Regions from separate parts of the Homo sapiens genome. Here all the other regions are linked to region 3. Evidence: promoter capture Hi-C in 16 types of primary human blood cells and fetal thymus (Javierre and others, 2016). All regions are on one chromosome and are shown on one strand. Each heading gives the region's core, a stretch centred on a gene start or on the middle of the fragment in contact. The rest is flanking DNA. Distances are from core to core; before and after follow the strand shown. Region 1 has its middle 39 kb from the start of EDAR. Region 2 has its middle 51 kb from the start of SLC5A7. Region 3 holds the start of GCC2 (GRIP and coiled-coil domain containing 2).

Evidence for each region. The method cuts DNA at HindIII sites, captures the fragments that hold promoters and counts their contacts. A CHiCAGO score of 5 or more calls a contact.
Region 1: a fragment that was not itself captured here is called in contact with the fragment with the promoter of GCC2 in region 3 in 1 of 17 cell types (fetal thymus); the score reaches 5.0 in fetal thymus.
Region 2: a fragment that was not itself captured here is called in contact with the fragment with the promoter of GCC2 in region 3 in 1 of 17 cell types (M0 macrophages); the score reaches 5.2 in M0 macrophages.

Annotation. Positions count from the first base shown.
Region 1 is chr2:109,026,124-109,029,719 of GRCh38, reverse strand. It overlaps a transcript of RANBP2 not described here. Among named protein-coding and RNA genes, the nearest start is that of EDAR, 39 kb to the right of the region's middle. The HindIII fragment of the contact is 7,284 bases long and covers 1-3,596 here.
Region 2 is chr2:107,933,596-107,936,991 of GRCh38, reverse strand. No RefSeq gene overlaps it. Among named protein-coding and RNA genes, the nearest start is that of SLC5A7, 51 kb to the left of the region's middle. The HindIII fragment of the contact is 3,340 bases long and covers 1-3,016 here.
Region 3 is chr2:108,447,724-108,450,832 of GRCh38, reverse strand. GCC2 (GRIP and coiled-coil domain containing 2) reads right to left here and starts at 1,627. Exons shown (of 23, transcript NM_181453.4): 1 at 1,553-1,627; 2 at 1,144-1,200. The coding sequence starts at 1,558. RefSeq lists enhancers at 1-136, 137-637, 723-1,704, 1,541-1,800, 1,705-2,687. The HindIII fragment of the contact is 5,578 bases long and covers 649-3,109 here.

The DNA.
Region 1 (3,596 bases), core at 267-2,766, 580 kb before region 3:
TCCAGCCAGGAAAGGAGAGGGGAACAGAGGAGACAGCACAGGCAGCAGGCAGGCATCCCAGGCCGAGGAAGGAGGGAGGGCTCCCCAGGGTCACCCTGCTCTACTTTTGGAGCCTGATGCTGTAAAGTTTGCCCGGCAGGGACACACATGCTGCAGAATCTCCTCTTTCCCCTCATTGAGAGGACCAGGTTTTCCCTTGGAAACGGACAGACACACACTGAGCTGCTGCTTCCCAGGAGGGCTGAGGCACCCTTCAATAACTTCAGGCATCAGTGTCAGCCACATCATGGTTTCCCACCTCCAGATTCCCATGCCTTCCTTACCCTAATGAAGTTTCTCCCATTTACACATGGTCCCTCATCATCCCTCTCCTGGATGCTTTACTAGCTTTATGGAAGGAACTTGGAGGAGTGGCCAAGGCAGAACCCAGCAGCTGCGGCCATGGGGGTGAATGGGGGCTGGGATGGGGAGGGACTCCATAGACTCAGTGTTGACATGAAGGAGGAAAGGGCCCAGGTGTCCTATTAACAGTAATAACAATAATCTTGCCTTAAACCTTATTTATTTATTTATTTATTTTATTTATTTTTGTAGTTTAGAATGAGGTGAGGGCTAAAGAAATAAACAATCACATAGGCCGGGCACAGTGCCTCACGCCTGTAATCCCAGCACTTTAGGAGGCTGAGGTGGGAAGATTGCTTGAGCCCAGGAGTTTGAGACCAGCCTGGGCAATATGGCAAAATCCTGTCTCTACTAAATAAATAAATAAATAAACAAACAAATAAATAAATAAACAATCACAACTAAAGTCGTGACAGCCAGATTCACACATGCATTCTCAGTTGGCCCTCACAGTCCCTGACAGCCACACAGATCCTGAGAGTGTGAGGCTGCTCTGGAAGACAGGAGTGGGGCTTAGACCCGATGACCTCTAAGCTCTGTTCTGCTGCTTTAGGTCCAGGGTCAAGGTGTAGGAGGGGCAAGATATGTGTGGGGGAAGGGCAAGAACCGGGCCTACTGACTTAAGCTACTCATTTGGGTGCATGTCTGCCACCCTCGGAGGGCCTGTGGAATAGGTCAGAGCACTCCTCTAAGTGAGGGCTGTTGGGATCGGATGCTTAGGGCACAGCAGAGGAGATTGAAACAGCATTCAGCACTGTCCAGATGTTGATGCAAGGACTGTCACCCTCAAATACAGTGTGTCAGCCACCATGAGCCACTGTGCAGGAGGGCCTGAGGGTGGCGTGTGGAGACAGGCCTCCCAGCAACGGGGAAGCCAGGGTGCAGCAGCAGGGCCTACCTTCTTGGTGTAAGGCTCTTCCTTCAGTGGAGGTAAGGGCCGTGGCCCAGCATGCACTTTGTACTTTCCATTAGCCCTGAGGCTCAGGTGTCAATTATGGTTTAGCATTTAAAATCGAACAATATGTTTTTATTTTATTTATTTCTTTTGAGACAGGGTCTCACTCTGTCACCCAGAGTGGAGTGCAGTGGCATGATCATGGCTCACTGCAGCCTCAACGTCCTGGGTTCAGGTGATCCACCCACCTCAGCCTCCTGAGTAGTGGAGACTACAGGTGTATGTCACCTGGCCCAGGTAATTTTTTGCATTTTTTGTAGAGACAGGGTTTCACCATGTTGCCCAGGTTGGTCTCAAACTCCTGGGCTCAAGATGTCTGCCTGTCTTGGCCCCCCAGTGTGCTGGAATTACAGGCGTGAGCCACCTCACCCTGCCAGTATGTTTTTAAACAGTACCAGGAAAGCCTTGAGCTCTTCCCTGCCTCAGCAGGACACATGCATTAACTGGCAGAGCCCAGTGCTCCCTCTGAGGATGGATCTGTGAGTAGCAGCTCTGGGAGAGACAGAAGTAGGGGACTGGCAGGGACTCAGAGCCTGCAGGGAGAAGGAAGACGCATGGCGGGGAGGCCAGCATGCCAGGCTGCAGAGCTGCCGCCCACCCACCCCGCCCACTCCTGGAGCCCAGGCCCTCATCAACTCTAGGTCTTGCTCCTGGCCTAGGTCCTGCTGAGTCCCCATAGTCATAACGACGCTTACGCAGCACTGCTTCCTTCCAGATACTTTGTCCACGTCAGTGCCCAATAACCCTGTGAGGTCTGTCACCACTTACAGGAGGGGAGCTGAGGCCCAGGAGGGCTTAGGCCCTGCCCAGGGTATCATAAACAGAGGGTGGATGGACATGCCAGGCTCAGAGCCTGTGCCTTCATGTCAGGCTCCACAGGCTTCCTTGGCTCCATGCTGCCTTCAAAAGAGGAAAGTTACTTTTGTCTTCAAAATCCAGTCTTTCCTTATGGCTTCAAAAGCTCTTCCCTTGAAGACTCCACAAAGGAACAAGATGTCTGGGGTCTGGCTGGGCCCAGGAGACCTCTGCAATGCCTCCAAGATGAGGCTAGTCCCCCAGGAGACCCACCCTCCTTCAAGAAGTCTTCAGAGGTCCTTGTTTTTTTTTTTTTTTTTTTTTTGAGACAGAGCCTCACTCTGTTGCCCAGGCTGGAGTGCAGTGGTGCAAATCTTGGCTCACTGCAACCTCCGCCTCCAGGATTCTAGTGATTCTCCTGCCTCAGCCTCCCAAGTAGCTGCTATTACAGGTGCGAACCACCACGCTCAACTAATTTTTGTATTTCTAGTAGAGATGGGATTTCACCACGCACCAAGCTGGTTTTAAAATCCTGACCTCAAGTGATCTGCCCACTTTGGCCTCCCAGAGTGCTGCAATTACAGGTGTGAGCCACCACACCCGGCCAATGTCTTCAGAGGTTCTTTTTTATTTTTTGAGACGCCCACCACCATGCCTGGCTAATTTTTTGTATTTTTAGTAGAGACGGGGTTTCACCACATTAGCCAGAATGGTGACCTCGTGATCCACCACCTTGGCCTCCCAAAGTGCTGGGATTACAGGCGTGAGCCACTGCACCCGGCCACTTCTAATGATTTTTAAGAAGTATTTGGCAGCTCTGAATTGGCAAGTGTGGAAATAAGACTGAGAGGAGCAGCTGTTTCTAAAAGATCATTTTGAGCTTTTTCCCCACCTAGAGGGTGCCGAGCAATCAGGATGTGAGGGGCACAGTCTGGGCTGCTGCTTTCCCCACTTGAATACATGACATATCCAGTGTATCCTACACTAACGGTGCTTCCTCACCTTAGAGCTGGGAGCTCATGACTGCATAGCCAGCCTTTGGTCCCCTTGCTTCAGAGGGAAGAGGGGCCCAAGGGACAGGCAATACCTCAGACACACTCTTCTAAAAGCAAAAACGGTGGCCATTAAAATAATGCGCTGTCCAGGTGTGATGGCTCTTATCTATTGTCCCAGCACTTTGGGAGGCAGAAGCAGGAAGATCGCTTGAGCCTAGGAGTTCAGGACCAGCCTGAGCAACATAGCAAGACCCCATCTCTTAAAAAAAAAAAAAGCTAGGCATGGTGGTATGAGCCTATAGTCCCAGCTACTCTGGAGGCTGAAGCAGGAAGATTGTTGAGCCCAGGAGCTCAGGTGACCTACAATCATGCCACTGCACTCCAGCCTGGGTGACAGAGTGAGACCCTTTCTCTAGAATAAACAAAATTAAAATTTTAAATATAAAATG
Region 2 (3,396 bases), core at 97-2,596, 510 kb after region 3:
AAAAAGGTATCACGTCGCCCTCTGCTGGTGAACCCACATAATTAATGAAAACAGGTTAAGATTTGGGAAAGATAAAATATTTTACTACTGTTTACTAAATCAAAGGTCCTGGGTGGTTCCACTTAATTATGTGAAGATAAGTTTAAATCTTGACATAATTTTATTATATTTATTTTAAATTTTATTGCTTAGCTTTTGTATAGTCTATTTTTAATGAAAGCAAGGCCATCACAAACAACTACCCCAGGTTGGCATCGTTGGGTGTATAAAGGAAAAGAAGGTTTTTCCCATTCTGTCTCAAATCATGTGATCTGGCTTTGTAGATTAGCAAAGTCTTGAGCACTACTTGAAATTGACTTGAGAGACTCAGAGGTATGAAGAAAATACTTCAGCATCAACTGTCAGATAAGGCCACAAGCTCTCTTAGTAACAGCAACACAGTATGAATTTAGCAAATCACTTATTGTCTCTTGGTCTGTATTTTCTCATTTATAAAAAAATGAGTTAGAAGGCCTAGCAGATCTCTAGGTTTTAAAAGATTGTAAATCCATAGTTTTTTATTTTATTTTATTTATTTATTTATTTATTTTTTTGAGACGGAGTCTCGCTCTGTCGCCCAGGCTGGAGTGCAGTGGTGCGATCTCGGCTCACCGCAAGCTCCACCTCCCGGGTTCACGCCAATCTTCCTGCCTCAGCTTCCCGAGTATCTGGGACTACAGGCGCCTGCCACCACGCCTGGCTAATTTTTTGTATTTTTAATAGAGACGGGGTTTCACCGTGGTCTGGATCTCCTGACCTCATGATCCTCCCGCCTCGGCCTCCAAAAGTGCTGGGATTACGGGCATGAGCCACCGCACCTGGCCCATCGTTTTCTATTTTTAAAATTTTAAGTATACATTTAATGAAAAGCGTAAGCTCCCCCCCAACTTTTTTTTTTTTGGACGGAGTCTCGCTCTGTCACCAGGCTGGAGTGCAGTGGTGCGATCTCGACTCACCGAAACCTCTGCATCTCGGGTTCAAGAGATTCTCCTGCCTCAGCCTCCCGAGTAGCTGGGATGACAGGCACGCACCACCACGCTCAGCTAATTTTCTTTTTTTTTTTCTTTTAGTAGAGATGGGATTTCACCATGTTAGCCAGGATGGTCTCGATCTCCTGGACCTCGTGATCAGCCCGCCTTGGCCTCCCAAAGTGCTGGGATTACAAGCATGACACACCGCGCCCGGCCAGCCCTCTCTTTTAAAGAACTGTTTCCCCTTTGCTCAGCCCCACTTAGAAACAGGTGGAGCAGCGTGTTCCCTTCATAAGCCACCAAGAAGACCGCAAGCTCAGACTCAGGGAGAGCAGAAGGAGGCCCATCCCATGCTCTGGGAACAAACAGTGCTGTCAGAGGGTGGGTCCCATAGAATTTTGTGAATTTGCTGGTCTCTCTCCGGTCCTGTACAGACACATTTCCTTGTGTTACCACATTGGCCTATAAGAAGCTGCCCACCTTCCTCCTGTCAAACTTTAACTCTCTAATCATCCCTTTTGAATCAATTTTCAAAAAAAATACCAAAGGTCAGTAAAAGATACCACTATCCCTCCAGGTTATCTCCCAAATACCCAGGAATCAACTGAAAATCATTCTGTCTCTCATATCTGCACCATATTGCTCTTCTGTGACCTCACTTTCTCCATCTCTGTCATCTCTCTAGTCTAAGCCACCATTGTCTTTAGCCGGAGCTCCCGAGCGGCCTCAGATCCGGTCTCTGCTTTCACTCTTGCCCTCTCCTCCGACTGTCCATTCTCCACTTATCACCAGCCAGTGTGGCTGTCTTCAGAGGTAAATCAGGCTTTGTCGTCTCCTACTTATTAACTTCCTTCAATCACTTCCACTGCACTTAAAATACACCCCAAACTCCTTATCCCCCTCTGGCCCTGCTTACTTTTCCAATCTCTCCTGATGCACCTCCCCACAATCCATGCATTCCACCCACTGACCTTCCTTCTCTCCTTCAGGCTCAGTGCTTGTCCTGGCCATACCTTTTGCAGGGGATGCCTCCCGTCCCACCTCAACTTTTTACTTGCCTGCTCCTTCTTCATGTTCAGTTCTGAACTCACGTATCAGTGCCTCAAAGAAGCTGTCTGTGACCAGCTTCTGCATGCTCCCCTCACCCTGTCCCTTTCACCTTTTAACATGTCACCCTATTTTCTAGGGCTTATTGTAAGCCAAACTCCCTGGTCAGTAAGCCACTAGTTTGTTCCCTGTCTCCCAGCTGGAAGCTCCTGGAGGGTAATAACCTTGACTCTCCAGTTTTCCTGCTGTGTTCAAGAGACCTAAAAGAGTTAAAAAAAAAAAAGTGCTCCATGTAAGCACTCAATGAGATTTTACTTGATAAAGGAATGCAGAAACAATGGAAGATACTGATCTTAGCATCCTGTGAGATTCAGAACTATTGAACTTATAATTATTGCCATTCTTGGAGGCTGACTTGGAGACTAGTCTATAAAGTCTCACTCATGTCTTCAGGTCTTTCCTGGGCACCTTATGGCAGATGGGTAGCTCATGTGTCCCTCATCTAGGGAAACTCCCTGTGTTTTTCCCCGCTGTTCCCTCTCCACCTGTGTTTTCTCTTCTGTGTGTTTTCATATCCACTGTGTTTACTTTTTATCTTCTATCTTATTACATAGTATTGCTATTAATGAAATATATTTGTGACTTCTCTGCTAGACTGAATGTCTTGGTAGTAAAGGTCACTTTTAATTTGTTTCTGAAGGCTTAGGAAAGCCTCTGTACAATATATATGACAGATAAATGGTGCGTAAGTAAATGTGAAAGTGTACTAAAAATCAGAATCATGGTGTTTCTCAATGACAGTATGGCAGGACGTATAACACGGAATGCCCTTGAATAATTTGAAGACTATCACAGTTTATAAACAAAGTTAATGTGTAAAGCCATGGCACATGATAACTGTAATTAAATAACACTGAAATATTATTTGATGCTATCAACATCTCTACCCCTAGCAAGCTTTTCCGTCTTGTTTTGCTGTAGACCTCCACCCTTATCTCCATGATGCCACTGTAATCTCTGATTCTGTGCTGGGAAACCCATCCTTTTAAGGTGCTTATAATTGAGAGCTTGTAAACATGTCTTTAGTGAAGCCTTCCTAGTGTCATTTAAAGTGGACATTTTCACCCGTCCTCTCACTCACACACTTCACATGTAATATGAGTGCATAATGCAAGTGCTTTTGTGTTCCATTTTTCCTTTCTGTCAACTTGTAGCTCAGACATTTGATAGGAACTTGTTGAATGTGATTGGCATGTAGTTCAGCTTCTTCTGTTCCTGTAAGATTTGTCCTTATCTTGAGGAGCTTGGCAGAAAGCAGGGGCCACGATTTCCTGACATT
Region 3 (3,109 bases), core at 378-2,877:
TGGCTCACTTGTAACCTCTGCCTCCCAAGTTCAAGCAATTCTCCTGTCTCAGCCTCCCAAATAGCTGGGATCATAGGCGCCCGCTACCACGTCCGGCTAATTTTTGTATTTTTAGTAGAGACGGGGTTTCACCATGTTGGCCAGGCTGGTCTCAAACTCCTGACCGCAGGTGATCTGCCCGCCTCGGCCTCCCAAAGTGTTGGGATTACAGGCGTGACCCACCGCGCCCGGCCACATTTTTTAAAATCAGCAAATGCAACGTCAATTCTGTAATTGCTATGCAACTACTAAAAATTAGTTATGCAACTACTATGAAACGTAAAAACCAGGCCATATCCTCTTATAGCTAATGTTACAGGTTGACATTGCTAGCTTTTGATTTAATTGTAAAATCAGTAGGTTGGAGCTAATGCTACTTAAAATTCCTTGGAGCTGTAAAATTATTTCATTCTATTCAAGGCTGCAAGTCTTTGGTCACAAGAAAATTTACGCATAATTACAGCAGCAAGATGAACCGGGTAACATTCAGGCTTTAATTAAAAAATTGAGCTTTACCACTTGAGAAAATTGCTTAAGCCTGTGGTCTCAGGTTTCTCATCTGTAAAAGGAGGGTAACAACAGTACCTATCTCATGGTTATCATGAAGCTTAAACGAAGGAACTGAGTGGTTAGGCAAGCGCCAGAAATTTAGCATGCACACAATAAACCTTAGCAATAAACCACTATCATTTAGAATGATTGAATGTTAAACATTGTACAGGGCCATAAAACTGGACTAATTAAACTCTTTGGCAATGTAGAAACTGGAGCCCACAGATCAGAATCCCTTGATTCCTACCCTATGTCACTGCTCCTTCCACTACACCACTATATAAACCTTCTTAGACTGCTTTATGTTCGAAAAATAGCAGGATCTCCCAGCAGTGCTAACCAGGAGCAGGAAGCAAACAAAAAGTCTTTCTATATCGGGGTGGGCGGGGGAGAAACAGGAAATGGGCGATTGCGCACACTAAAATTGAGATCCCTTGGAGCAAGGCTATTAAAAAAAAAAAAATCAGCGCCCCCCCCTTCCCCATGCCAAAGTTTTCCAATTCATCACCCTTCCACTCTTCAGGAAGCCCGCTATTCAAGTATTCTCTTCACCTTAGATTTCCCGGTCCCAGGGGTAGCTGGTGAAGCCACCCCATCTTGAACAAGATCCTGCAAAACAAAATCAAACCCAGGTGTCAGAAGAACTCTTTTCCTAATTCCACACGGAACGCGTAGAACCCTTACAGGGAAAAACCTTCTATGGAATCAAGTGGTGGAAAGCCTCGTGAGACAGAGAATGAGGGCGGACGGAGGCGGTCGCTGTGGCAATTCGTACACAAACGGGCTCTACGGGGCAGGTAACCCCCAGGGATAGAGTTTACGAAAGATGGGGAGGCGACAGCAGCGCGGGCTTCGGGACACCAAGAGGGAGACTACCGCGCCCTCCCATCGGGCCCACTCCCACATCCCAAATCGCGGCGCGGAAGGCTTGATGGGAGGCAGTGGGCCCGACCTGAGTTACCTCCATCTCCGCCAGCCCGCCGCCGGCCCGCAACCAGCCGCCGCCACCGCTGCACTTCTGTTTGCGCCAGCCTCTGACGTAGGCTCTACTGCAGGTCAAAGGTCGCGCTCTCCGGGCGGCCCGCCCCCCACGTCTCCATAGCTACAGCTCGGCAGCACTTCCGCTTCCGTGTCTGCGTCCGGGAGAAGGTTCCCCGTACGGCGCTAAGGGCGGAGTCCGTCTAGACGTTCTACCTGGGGCTCGACCCCTGGGCCTGCAGGTCACGGAGTAGGTGTGGGTCCCGCCACTGCCGGTTATTGGCATGGGAAGGCGGGCCGATTACCCCTTGGGGCCTCGGGCCTCGGTTTCCACGTCTGTAAAATCTTGTGAGAGTGAGGAACATTGGATTGCAGGACAGGTCTCTCAGTCCTCCAAAGGTGTCCGCTAGCCTGCGAGTGCCTGCGGGACCCACAGCTGGTTCCGGGGGGCTCCTTAGGCATTTGTGGCCAGCATGGTGCCCGGGAGCTCCGTGACTCACAGGTCAGGGATGCGGTAGAGGGCTTCCCTGAGGAGGCATTTCTTGACTCTGGAGGCTGTGAGGAGGTCCCTGGACAGCTCTGCCCTGCAGCCGCCCGGTACTGATGGTGATGTGGTGGAGGCAAGATAGTCGGCCAGGGAACTGGGCAGCCGTGGGAGGAGACTCTGTAGAGTAGGGGGCCCGAGGCCACCCTTTCCCGAAGGGCACGCCAGAGAATCTGTGGTCGAATCCCAGAGCTGCTGCTGTGTCCTGATTGGCGGTCCAGTGCTCTGAGAGCCTTTCTGTTAACTGCTGAAGTGGTTTGCTGCGCTTTCACCTTCCCATTAATGTTTTCCATACACTCCCATAACTAAGGTAACCTGAAGATAACCTAGTTTCCTGTAGTTTAAATGGTCAAAAGGTTGAAGAGGCAGCACACAGTATGTATCGAGTAAATGGTAGCTGATTATTACTAGGTAAAAGAAGTGTTATAAACGAGAAAGAACAGCTATTGTGGACATCTACTCTTTGTCTTTGACAGTGTGTATCACCTATGGTGTTTGTAGGATTGGTTCAGGGGTGGTGTGTGACCTAAGATGTACAGTCTCCACGTACAGTAACACACGTGTGTGTGTACACGTGTGTGTGTACACGTGTGTGTGTGCACGTGTGTGTGTGCACGTGTGCGCGCACGTGTGTGTGCACGTGTGTGTACACACATATATGCACACACATGTATACACACACACACACACAATCCCCAAGTATACATTGTTATTAATGGTCCAGATTAATGCCATTCAAAGTAGTTCCCCAAGTTAAGAGCAACTTACGGTAGACTCCTATTTCAATTAATAACTTGAAAAAATCACTTGCAATAAAATAGCAGGTTAACTAGATACTACACACATTCCAATCCTGTAAAAGTTTCTCAGAGAAACACTGTTAGATATAGTTACATTCCAGGAGTTTGGCTACATCAATAGCTACAGAAGAGTTGATGTTCTCACAGTAGAACTCTCTTTTTCTCATACTTGAAATAAAAAAGAACCTTTCTTTTC